Regions from separate parts of the Homo sapiens genome. Here regions 1, 2 and 4 are each linked to region 3. Evidence: promoter capture Hi-C in 16 types of primary human blood cells and fetal thymus (Javierre and others, 2016). All regions are on one chromosome and are shown on one strand. The core of a region is centred on a gene start or on the middle of the fragment in contact, and the rest is flanking DNA. Distances in the headings are between cores, read along the strand shown. Region 1 overlaps ZCCHC2 (zinc finger CCHC-type containing 2). Region 2 overlaps PIGN (phosphatidylinositol glycan anchor biosynthesis class N). Region 3 holds the start of TNFRSF11A (TNF receptor superfamily member 11a). Region 4 overlaps ZCCHC2 (zinc finger CCHC-type containing 2).

Region 1 (2,700 bases), core at 5-2,504, 240 kb before region 3:
TCGAAAAAACAGTTGCAAACTTCTTTAGTGAGCAGTAGTTCCCAAACACTGTGAGACAAGAGACAGAGTGAGCTTGTGGAGGGCAGGAATTTCATTCAGAAAATGGTATTTTAGAAAACAAACACGGCAGCAGTATGGAAAATGAACTAGAAAGAGAAGGAACAGAGACAGGGAGGGCCAGCAGCATCAATCTCCAAATGTCCACCGACAGACTTCTGTCTTCCTCATTTAGCTTGTTCCTCCTCCGTTAAGCTGCCATCGCCACCAGAGGGAACCTCAGAGATAGTAAGTGTTACAAGATCCTTCTACAGACAAGATGGGTTTTGTCCATGTTATTTTACTCCCACTTCCAATGCTTCAATGAGTTGGCCAGATGATTTTAGTTTTTTAATTTATTATTTATTTATTTATTTGAGATGGAGTTTCACTCTTGTTGCCCAGGCTGGAGTGCAATGGCGCAGTCGTGGCTCATTGCAACCTCTGCCTCCCGGGTTCAAGCGACTCTCCTGCCTTAGCCTCCCGAGTAGCTGAGATTACAGGCATGTGCCACCACGCCTGGCTAATTTTCGTATTTTTAGTAGAGACAGGTTTTCATCATGTTGGTCAGGCTGGTCTCGAGCTCCTGACCTCAGGTGATCCACTCACCTTGGCCTCTCAAAGTGCTGGGATTACAGGTGTGAGTCACCGTGTCTGGCCCAGATTATTTCAGATTCAAAAGGTAACTATTTTTTTTCTTCATCACTATTCAGTCTTTCTATACAAATATCTAGTTGAAAAATATACTCAAAACTTTTAAGAAATAGATTCTGGTTATTCATATTACATCACAACTGAATGTACTAATATTAGAATAACATTTAAATTAACAATCACATTTGTGGGATCACTACATAAATGTGTCAGGGGCACCCAGGGATAAAATATTCTCCTAGAGGTCTGCGTGCTCTTATTCTTTTTTAATCGTTACAATTAATAGTGAAGATAAACAAAATCAATGAAGCTGCAGAAGGGCACTTTCTCAAGTCAAATGAACCTTGAACCTAAAAATAAAGGGACCTTAAAATAGTGGTGGGTAAATGGAAGCCATCTAGTATAACAAAAATTTGAGGGTTGACATTCCCCTAAAGCCTCATAAAACTTCGCAAAGGATGGTTATTAAATCATGAAGAAGTCAACAGTATTCTAAAAAATACTTTACACAAAAACACTCTCATGAGCGGCCGGCAAAGCCACAGGAGAGATCTCCCATGGCCTTGGGACCTGTCTCCTGAGTTGGAACTGGCTGGAGAAGAACAACCTGGGAGACTCCTGCTGCCAGAAGGGAGAGGCAGGTGAGAATCACTGAGGCAAAGGCAATCTCCACCCCCATGGCTGGTTTGTATTCCCTAAATTAACTCCATTGATTTCAGAACTGTTTAATTTGGAAATTGCTGTACATATCAACACAAGGTAAACTTATAGTATTAGGATTTGACACAACAGCTCAGTATCTATTAATACAGTAAGTATCATGCTGAATATATTTATGTGATGGGTATTTGAAAGAAAAATAACCTTCTTACCTTTCACAGTACCACCATGGGCATGCTGAGGAGTGGAGAGTCTAATACCATTTATTCTACTATTCAATCTGTTGTCAGTTTTCTTAATTTTCTCCCTAAACCAAATGAACATATTGCCAACATTTTAATAAGGTTATCTACCAAACACATTCAGTACAGTATTGATAAAATTTCCTTCAAGACTCTTCAAATTTTTTTAGTAAGGAATAATCTAAATACAATTAAGATTCGCCCTTCCGTGGAAAGTTCTGAGAGTTTTACCCCTCCAAACTGAATGCAATATTTGACAGTAGCTTTATTTTTATCACCTGCATATATTAATATTTTGAACCAAAAGAGTAAAACCCAGAATTAAAAATATAAAGAAAACTAACTAAAAAAATACTATGTTGTATACTATCATAAACTAAACAGGCCTATTATCAAAGGCTATATGCTGTCTTTCCTTAAATTGAACCTACTTTTCTGTTTGTGGCTTTCCTTTCTTCTTATTTATTGAAGATAAACTCCGTTTTTCAGCAGAATGCTAGTAGAAAGAATAAAAAGACAAATCAGACAAAAGCTAAACCATTTTGACGTTTTTACTCTCATAATAAACATTAAAATGATAGATTCCCAGTTGTATATTCTAACAAGTGTTGATTTCCAACCTATTTTTGAAGTTTCCCACCTGAACCACTAAAATTTACATATTCTGTGACACTTACATATTTTCCTCATGATTAATACAGTATTATTTTCTATTTTTCTTTGAAAATGGACCTACATTCTTTTTTCTGACTATAAAATGAAACACAATCAAGTGACTGGCACTTGCTGTAGGTTTACTACTATTCTCTTCAAGTACAATTCCATATAACTGTCAACACTTAACTACGTCAACTCTAAGAAGAGAGGGTGCAGGCACTGGAGTAGGGGAGGGAAAGTAAACTCAGACGGGCTTTGAAAATAGGTCACTAATTATGACTAAAACTATTTATAATTTCTCAGAATATGCTTTAATGCATAAAAACACATTCCAAGAAGAGTTAACATTTGGATCTGAGCGTTGGCCAGGGACAACATCGGGTTAATGAATCAATTTTCTAGAGAGAAGTTTCATTCCATACTTGTAACATATACACAGGGACCTCCCCCC
Region 2 (2,774 bases), core at 260-2,759, 150 kb after region 3:
CTCACACCTGTAATCCCAGCACTTTAGGAGGCCGAGGTGAGTAGATGACTTGAGCCCAGGAGTTCAAGACCAGCCTGGGCAACATGGCAAGACCCCCGCTCTACAAAAAATACAAAAATTAGCTGAATGTGGTAAACATGCACCTGTGGTCCCCGCTACTTGGGAAGCTGAGGTGGGAGGATGACTTAGCCCAGGAAGCTTAGGTTGCTTAGAAAATGAAGACTAAAAAATAGCTATTAGATTTTGCACTGTTAACTGTCTTTACTTTCTTATGAAGTAATGACAATAAGGTTTAAGTTGTTTGAGATTTAGGTGGTCAGGAAAAAAAAGAGGTCACATTCAGCCTTTTCAAGAAGTTTGACTGTGTTGGGGAGAAAAGGGCAATAGATGTTTAAAATTTTTTTTATTAATACTGATATTTATGAGATGTATCCTTTTCAGAAATATGGTATTTCATTATGAATAAACAATTTATCTGTTCCCTATGGTTAGATATTGTTTCCAATTTTTTATTATTACAAATAGCAAAAGCCAAGATTTGAATGTAAAGGTTTAAAACCTTTTTCTTTCTGATGTGTAATTTTATCATAGTAAATTCTACACTAGTAGCAGTACTAATACTTGTGAGCTGGTTAAAAACATAAGCTGATGTCTACCTCACACCATATACAAATAATTATTTTTGTTTCAGAGGACACAAACCAACACAAATAAATTTTAAATAATGAAAGGTAAAAAACAAAAATCTAAAACTATTAGAAGAATATATGTGACATAAGAACCAGGAAAGTTTTCTTCTATAGTACAAGACACAAAAAACTCACACCAGAAAGGATAAATGTTTGACAAATTTTACTGTATTAAAGTTGAAAAATTTATTTTAACAAAAGGCCCTATGAACAACATTTATATATAAATGTGTATATCTAGCTATGTATAAACATACACACACTATATAAACATACACACACATATAATTGTAATGTACAAGTCAAATAAAAGGTCAATAACCCTAATCCTATCTGATCAAAGGATATGAATAGGCAGTTGAAAGGAAGAGAGACCCAATTGGCCAATAAAAACATGAAAAAATTTTCATACTCACTAGTAATCAGGCAAATACATATTCAAATAACAGGATGCCAATTTGGCCTGTTCAAATTGTCTTAAGGTAAATATGACAGTATCAAGCAATTAGGGGGATTTAGAGATATAGAAGCTTTCGTACATTGCTGGAGAGTATGTAAATTAGTATGGACACTTTGCCAGTCACTTGTAAAGTTGAAAATTTTGTTTATTAGAGCAATTCCACTTATAGAGGTGGCTTTCAATCTTATTGGTCCATAGAATAATTTAAAATAAAACTTTCAGTACAGGTTATGTACATGCAAGAATATTGATGCGTGGATACACAGGAAAAAAACACACTTTTTCAAAATAATCATGTACTACTTCTGAAGTACTTTGTGATGTGATATATTCTATATTTTATCCAATCCTATTGTACTGTATTCTATTTCATTTTTTAAAAAAAGGAAAGAAGGCTAATTGCAGTCCATGAAATTATTTTGTTATGGGTCACTACTCTACAGTTTGTAAAAATTCTAAAAATCTCCACCTTTACCATAAGAGAGCAGCTTAATTGCCATATTATTTGTAATCATGACAACTGCGAGTGATGTTGATCAGCAGGATAGTGTTCAATTAAATTGTAATAGAGTCATATAATAGAATATAGGTCTTGAATGTTTGAGATCATTTATAAGGCTTTTTTGGTAGTACTGATTAGAATAAGCTTATAAAAGAAATAATGGCTTTGCATCTATACTGGTAAAAATTAATTTCAAGTAAGGTGGGGAAAGCAGGAGTGGAAATGATGATGATTATAATATTAATGTAATCTTGTAGAATGACAGATGGCTTTTATTTATGTATGTATTTATTTATTTTGAGACAGGGTCTCACTTTGTCACCCAGGCTGGAGTGCAGTGGCGTGATCTCAGCTCACTGGCAGCCTCGATCTCCGGGGTTCAAGCAATCCTCCTGCCTCAGCCCCACAAGTAGCTGGGACTACAGGCATGTGCCACCATGCCTGACTAATTTTTTTGCATTTTTTGTAGAGATGGGGTTTCACCACATTGCCCAGGCTGGTCTCAAACTCCTGAGCTCAAGTGATCCACCTGCCTTGGCCTCATAAAGTGCTAGGATTACAGGTGTGAGCCATCAGGCCTGACCGACAGATGGCTTTTAATTACACAATTGACTGGGTTTAACATATATACTCTTCATACAGAAGAACATCAATTTATGTAGGTGCCTCGTCATCTCAGGAGGTGGAGTGTAACTCCTCACTCTTTAAGTGTTGGCTGCACGTAGTGACTTCCTACCAAAAACTATAGTATGAAATGGGGGAACATTTACATGGAGAAACTTTACAGTGAACTTTACAGAGGACAAACTGAACAAACCGCCTCAGCCAAGTGGTCAAGTTTTATATTAACAGTTTAGTAAGTCATGTTGACAGTACCCTTAATGTGATGTGAAGAAAATGGTACTTTATGTATGTATGTTTCCTCTCCTGAACCCATAACCCCAGACTTACCATGAGAAAAACATCAGATAAATCCCAATAGCAAGACATTATACAAAATCTCTGACCAGTACTCCTCAAAACTCACAAGGTCATCAAAACAAGCAAAGTCTGAGAAATTATCACAGCCAAGAGAAGCCTAAGGAGATATGGTGACTAGCTGCCCTGTGGTATCCTGGTAGAG
Region 3 (2,700 bases), core at 42-2,541:
GGCAGGTTTTTCTTAGGTGGCTAGCTGTTCGCTGAAACCCTGGTCCTTTGGTTCAAATAAGGTAGCACCCCGTTCAACCTGTTGAACACTTAATTAAGCAACACCTGAAGTGCTTAAAATGAAAAAATCCTTTAGACTTTTCCGCCTTCGTTTCCCTCAACCATACTGACAGACCCATACAATTGGGAATGAATCTTCCCTAGAATCTTTTGCTTCAGCCTTCAGTGCACCCACATTATTTCTGTCAAGGCTTTTCCCCTCTCTTCTCACCCAAACACGATTCTCCATGCGTCCCTCCCCACGCCTCTCCGGGTTCCGTGCCCGGCTGCGGAGGGACGGCAGCAGCCTAACCTAGTGTTAACAGAGGGGAAATCTGACCCAGCCGAAACCAAGAAAACCACCACTCGCCCTTCCCTGTGAGAGCTTTCAAGTTCGTATCAACGATTTTTAAAGCGTTTGTTGTGCTGGGTGTGCTTCCCTCTGCGGCCCTCCTCCACGAGGCAGAAAGTCCGTGCCTGGCTGCATTCGCTTGCTAACTGTACTGAGAAACCTGTTCCGAGAGGACCGGGAAGCCACTCGGGTCTGCGAGGGTCAAGTCCAGCATCCCCGGGGCGCGCGCGCAGTCTCTCCCCGCCGTGCGGGGCCTCCAGGCGAGCTGGCAGGGGTGTCCCCGAAGGGGCTCAGGGGAGGCAAAGGCAAGCCCGCAGTTCAGGGACGGAGGGAATCATGTCTCTTTCCGGGTGGAAATTTGGGACGGAGGCCACCCGGGAGAAATCGTATCGGGAACGGTTATCTGCCGCAAGTGAGGTGCCCACGGCGCTGTCTCCCGCGGCACCGCCCGGCGCAAGCGCTTAGTAGGTGCTCAAGAAGCATTTGGAGAAAATGACAGCATCAAAGCCTGCGGCTAAGAGGGGCTTTTGGAAGAGCCCGTTTCGGGTGTTGCGGTCCCGCCAACCTGCTCCTTCTGCGCCCCAGTTTCCCTCCGCTTGCCCTTTCCCGCCCTCCGCCGTCCAACTCTGGAAGCGCCTCCCCAGCTTCCCACGGCCTCCGCTCCCCAAAACTCCGGCTCCTCTCGGAAGGCGGAGGAGCCAGGATGCCGCCGGCCCCGGCCCTTCCCGGGGCTCCCGAGGAGGCGTCGGGCCGCGCGGCCCGGCAGGCGCGGGCGCTCCTTACCTGCAGCCGGGCGAGCAGCGCGCAGAGCAGCAGCAGCGCGAACAGCGGGCGGCGCCGCCGGGCGCGCGGGGCCATGGCGCGGGACAGGCTGGCGGGCGCCGCGGCCTCAGCGGCCTCTGTGGCCCAGCGGGCGCGGCTGCCGCGGCCCTGTGTGGTCCCGCCCCCGTGCCCCGCCCCGCACCTGCCCCCGCGCCGCCCTCCTGCGCCCCCCTCCGGCCGGGCCCGGCGGTGCCAGCCAGGTGGTGCCCAAGCTCCCCTGGTTTGCGGTGGGACGCGGGGCCCCGCTCGGGGAGGGGCCCCGGGGGTGTTCGCCGCGCCCGGTGCCTCCTTGGTCCGGTCTCCGCCCCTGGCCCAGGTGCTCGGGCTGCAGACAGGTTGGCGGGAGACCAGCCCTGGGTTGCCCTTCACGGCACTGGCTCCTGCCTTGCCGCACCCCAGGCCTGTGGGCCCCGCCTCCCGGGAAGGAATGGGGGCATCGGGGTGGTCCTGCTCCTGCCCCGCGCGCCCACCCTTCGAGGCCCGGCCTTCCGAAAGTGGATGCGCCACCGTCGAGAATGAACGGGAGGAGGATCCTTCCTGGAGATTTCGTCGACTGCAGTTAAGGCATCAACACAATACACCATCCGCCAATCTTCGTAAAATACTCCTCTTGTTCTTTGCTTCAAAATGTTGGGGCCAGCAGCCACTATCTCTTTTTCTTCTCCTGATCCTCTGCCTCCGCCCCTCACCCGTCCTGCACCCACCAAATTCTAGAAAGGCACCAGGCTCCGCCAGCCTTGAGGCGTCCCCCAGCCCCCATCACCACATTGGCCCTTTCAGACATAAAGTGGCCAGATGTCTGGGGCACAGTGTTACCTAAAAACTGAGGTCCGTTCTTCTGGTGCAGTAAGGCCAAGCCATCCGCACTAAGGTTTGCACTGGGAGAAAAGAGGGCGCTTATCTGCAGAGCTCCAGGCAAGGAGAATGGGGCAGCTCTTGCTTAAATCCTGACCTTCAGTTGGCTTGCAAGTAAGGATTTTTAAACGCAGGGTTAATTTCAAGAAAGCAGAAGTTACAGGCAAAATCATAATACACGGAGGTTGCACATTGGTTTGGTCTAACAAGCTGGGATATCTTGAAAATCTTTAAAGTGAGGGTGCTTATAGGTTATACATTCAAAGATTTTCTGACTTGCCATCAGTGAAGGAAGAGAAGCTTTGTTAAAAATTTGGGGTCAGCAAAAATGAATGTTAGCTCTGGCTCGTGGGTGTGACTTCCTCCTTGCCCTTCAGGAAGAAATTTAGAAGAAAGAATGGTGGTCAGTTCCGTCCTCATTTCCCCCTTGTCTGAGGTCTGCATGCCAGTGGATCTGTTTTGTTGGGGGTCTGGGTTTCTGAGAAACAATTCAGGGACATATGTTAAGATGTTATCTTTCGTTTCTATAGGGAATCTAACTTCCTTGGTTATTGTTTTAAGCTATAATTACCTTCTTGCTTATCAAGTTACTTATTTACTTCTTAGGGCTAGCTAGGTACCTGGAATTTCCCT
Region 4 (2,700 bases), core at 119-2,618, 210 kb before region 3:
ATTAAATGTTTATTTTCTCCTCCAAGTCTCAGCATGTATCAATGCTATAAAATCACGTAGACTATGTTTAGAAGCTATTACTAAACTCACTCATGTAACGCTGCATGAGCTGGAGATGAGAATCGGCAGCCCCAATGGTGGGTGGCTGCTCGGCGATGCTGTCTGCCCTGCACTCCCTCTTTACTTTCCTTAGGGGGATGGGTAGCATAAAATCTGAGAACTCCTTCTTTAATGGAATCATATAAAGAGGAATGGCACCCACTTTATCTGTTAAGTTCAGATTCCCATGAAAATGCAGAACAGATGAAATGCCAGAATCAGTATTTTACAAAGACTAGTTGGAGAAAAGTGTCAGGACCACGAGAAAAGTGGATTTTTCTCTGTTTGTATCAAGAAAGCAGGGTTTAAAGATTCTAAACCTGCAAAAATACGCACAAGCATACAAAGAACTTTAGTAGGAGTGCATTCTCCTTTCTTAACTCGCCTGAGGCAGAGCTTCTTCTGTCCTATCGCTTGCCTCAAGAGCTACTGGTTAGCACAAACCTACACGGCATGTGGTTCAGGTGGTCTAGATGGTTTTGCCACAGATCACACGTAGACCCATCACAATTACATACTTGAGATTTCTTAACTGTGGGGACCTTGTGAAACAGCCAAGTAGCTGGACATCCTAAAAAACTCTTCTCTGAAAACATACCATTAGAACAAAGGTCATAGATGGAGTTTTAGTTCGTCTAACAATATTCTACATGGTTCTTGTAGTCCCTCGATATAGACTATAAATTTAAAAATCCAAGATATTCCAAATATAATAACACAGCAGTAAGAGTTTTTTATTTTTTAAAACCAAAGTCACTAACTTCTTCTGAAGTTTTCCCAATTGTCAAATGAGACTTAGAAAATTAACAGCAATATATAACAACATTCTATTAAGCTTCCGTGGCGGATTAAAGGTAGCTAAAAATTATTTAATATTCCTCCCGCTGAAAAGTGGAACCAATTCCCCACCCAGTGGATCTAGGCTGGCTTTAGAATGTGCTGGTGGTGATGCTCTTCTAAAGTTAGGTCCTGGGAAGCCTCAGCCCTGGGCCTCCTGGACACTTGGGCTTGGAGTCCTGAGACACCACATGAGACATGCACTTCTCCTGGCAGCCGCACTTGATGGACCACGTGGAGAGAGGAGAGGGGTCTAGGGATGCCATCTGGGCCCCAGCTGTGTCCCAGACACCCTAGAACAGAGACAAACTCTTCACTATAGTTATTTGTCTAAATCCCTCACCCACAAAACTGTGAGAGATGGTAATAAAATGGTCATTGTTTTACACCACTAAGTTTGGGGGTAATTCTGTTCTTTAAATAGGCAGATTCATAGGTCTCCTCCTTCAGCACTGGCATCTGTGCTTCCTTTGCCAACATGCTCTCACTACAGAAGGAAAACATCTTTTAACCCTAGAACTAGGAAGATGATCCAGAAATTGCTATATCCCTGGGCCAGCAGCCCCCACATCTTTAAGTCCCCACATCAGGGTGTTCTGGGGTGAGGTGAAAAGAATGCATGCATGAGTGCACAAGGATCTAGAGAAGCGCACATCTCCTCCCCAGCCCACATCTGACTCTGCCTTCGCTGTCGCAGTCTCGCCCCACGAGAGATGAGGGAGGGAGGCCAAGGGGTCGTCAGGAAGGATGTGAGCCTGGGCTCAGAAGCTGGAAGGAGCTTCCATGCCTTCTAGCACCTGCAGCAGAGCCACTGCTTCACCCCCAGTGCAAAAACATTCTTGGAACCTTGTAGAAACATAAGCTTATAGAACCTAAGAAGGATCTACGGCAGTAACTGATTTACTATATAGTGTTGCCAACACTGCATTAGGACTTGTGTTTCACACCACTAGTTATTATAGAATGGGCAATTTTCCCAAACTAATAAAACTACTCAATACTCAATGCCACAACCTCTCTGTATGAGGGATGACCTCTTTTCAAGCAAATACTCCCAAACATTACAGCATTTGGTTCACATGTGACCATGCCGTCTCCCATTTAGGACCACCAGTGAATTTCAATCATTTGATACCCAAGACAAAAATCAACTGTACTACGGGACACATCCCAATTTAGACATTTCTAACAAGAAACATAAAAATTCCCCAACATTTATGTTATAGAGCGTTCACTTCAGTGACCAAAGTTTAATTATCTTTCCAATCACACAAGGCACTACCCCAATTCTACATCTGACTCACACCACCCCTCAAGTAGATCATAAACTGGAGATCAAACACTACAGGCTACCTACCATCAACTATCCAAGCAATAAGAAAATAGGTTAATATATGACTTTTCCATCCTATCAAAATGTCACTGCTAGGTCTGCACCAATTTATGCACCCACACACAAAAGCTCAATTAACACAGGGAGTACAAATAATCAGATTTTTTTTTTTTTTTTTAAGACAGGATCTCCCTCTGTCTCCCAGGCTGGATTGCACAGCAACGCAATCACGGCTCACTTCAGCCTTGACCTCTCTGCTCAAGCAATCTTCCCACCTCCGTCTCTTGAGTAGCTAGGACTACAGGCATGTACCACCATGCCAGGCTAATTTTTTTTAGAGATGGGGTCTTGGTATGTTGCCTAGGCTGCTAATAGTCTGATTTGGAAGGTATATTAAATAAGCACAGCCAGTCAGCATCCACCCATTGAAG

The links. Contacts are between HindIII fragments. The CHiCAGO score rates a contact against its expected background, and 5 or more counts as called.
Region 1: a contact is called between a fragment that was not itself captured here and the fragment with the promoter of TNFRSF11A in region 3, in 4 of 17 cell types (megakaryocytes, M1 macrophages, naive CD8 T cells and 1 more). The highest score is 7.1, in megakaryocytes.
Region 2: a contact is called between a fragment that was not itself captured here and the fragment with the promoter of TNFRSF11A in region 3, in 1 of 17 cell types (megakaryocytes). The highest score is 5.9, in megakaryocytes.
Region 4: a contact is called between a fragment that was not itself captured here and the fragment with the promoter of TNFRSF11A in region 3, in 2 of 17 cell types (megakaryocytes and M1 macrophages). The highest score is 6.2, in megakaryocytes.

Annotation. Positions count from the first base shown.
Region 1 is chr18:62,563,959-62,566,658 of GRCh38, reverse strand. It overlaps ZCCHC2 (zinc finger CCHC-type containing 2), which reads right to left. Exons shown (of 14, transcript NM_017742.6): 10 at 2,024-2,088; 11 at 1,563-1,657. Among named protein-coding and RNA genes, the nearest start is that of ZCCHC2, 42 kb to the right of the region's middle. The HindIII fragment of the contact is 4,373 bases long and covers 1-2,700 here.
Region 2 is chr18:62,178,923-62,181,696 of GRCh38, reverse strand. All of the region lies in intron 1 of PIGN (phosphatidylinositol glycan anchor biosynthesis class N), which reads left to right. Among named protein-coding and RNA genes, the nearest start is that of PIGN, 6.7 kb to the left of the region's middle. The HindIII fragment of the contact is 576 bases long and covers 1,222-1,797 here.
Region 3 is chr18:62,323,901-62,326,600 of GRCh38, reverse strand. It overlaps TNFRSF11A (TNF receptor superfamily member 11a), which reads right to left and starts at 1,291. Exons shown (of 10, transcript NM_003839.4): 1 at 1,174-1,291. The coding sequence starts at 1,248. RefSeq lists silencers at 1,200-1,399, 1,450-1,659. The HindIII fragment of the contact is 5,361 bases long and covers 1-2,369 here.
Region 4 is chr18:62,534,059-62,536,758 of GRCh38, reverse strand. The region is part of intron 1 of ZCCHC2 (zinc finger CCHC-type containing 2); the gene reads right to left. Among named protein-coding and RNA genes, the nearest start is that of ZCCHC2, 12 kb to the right of the region's middle. The HindIII fragment of the contact is 864 bases long and covers 937-1,800 here.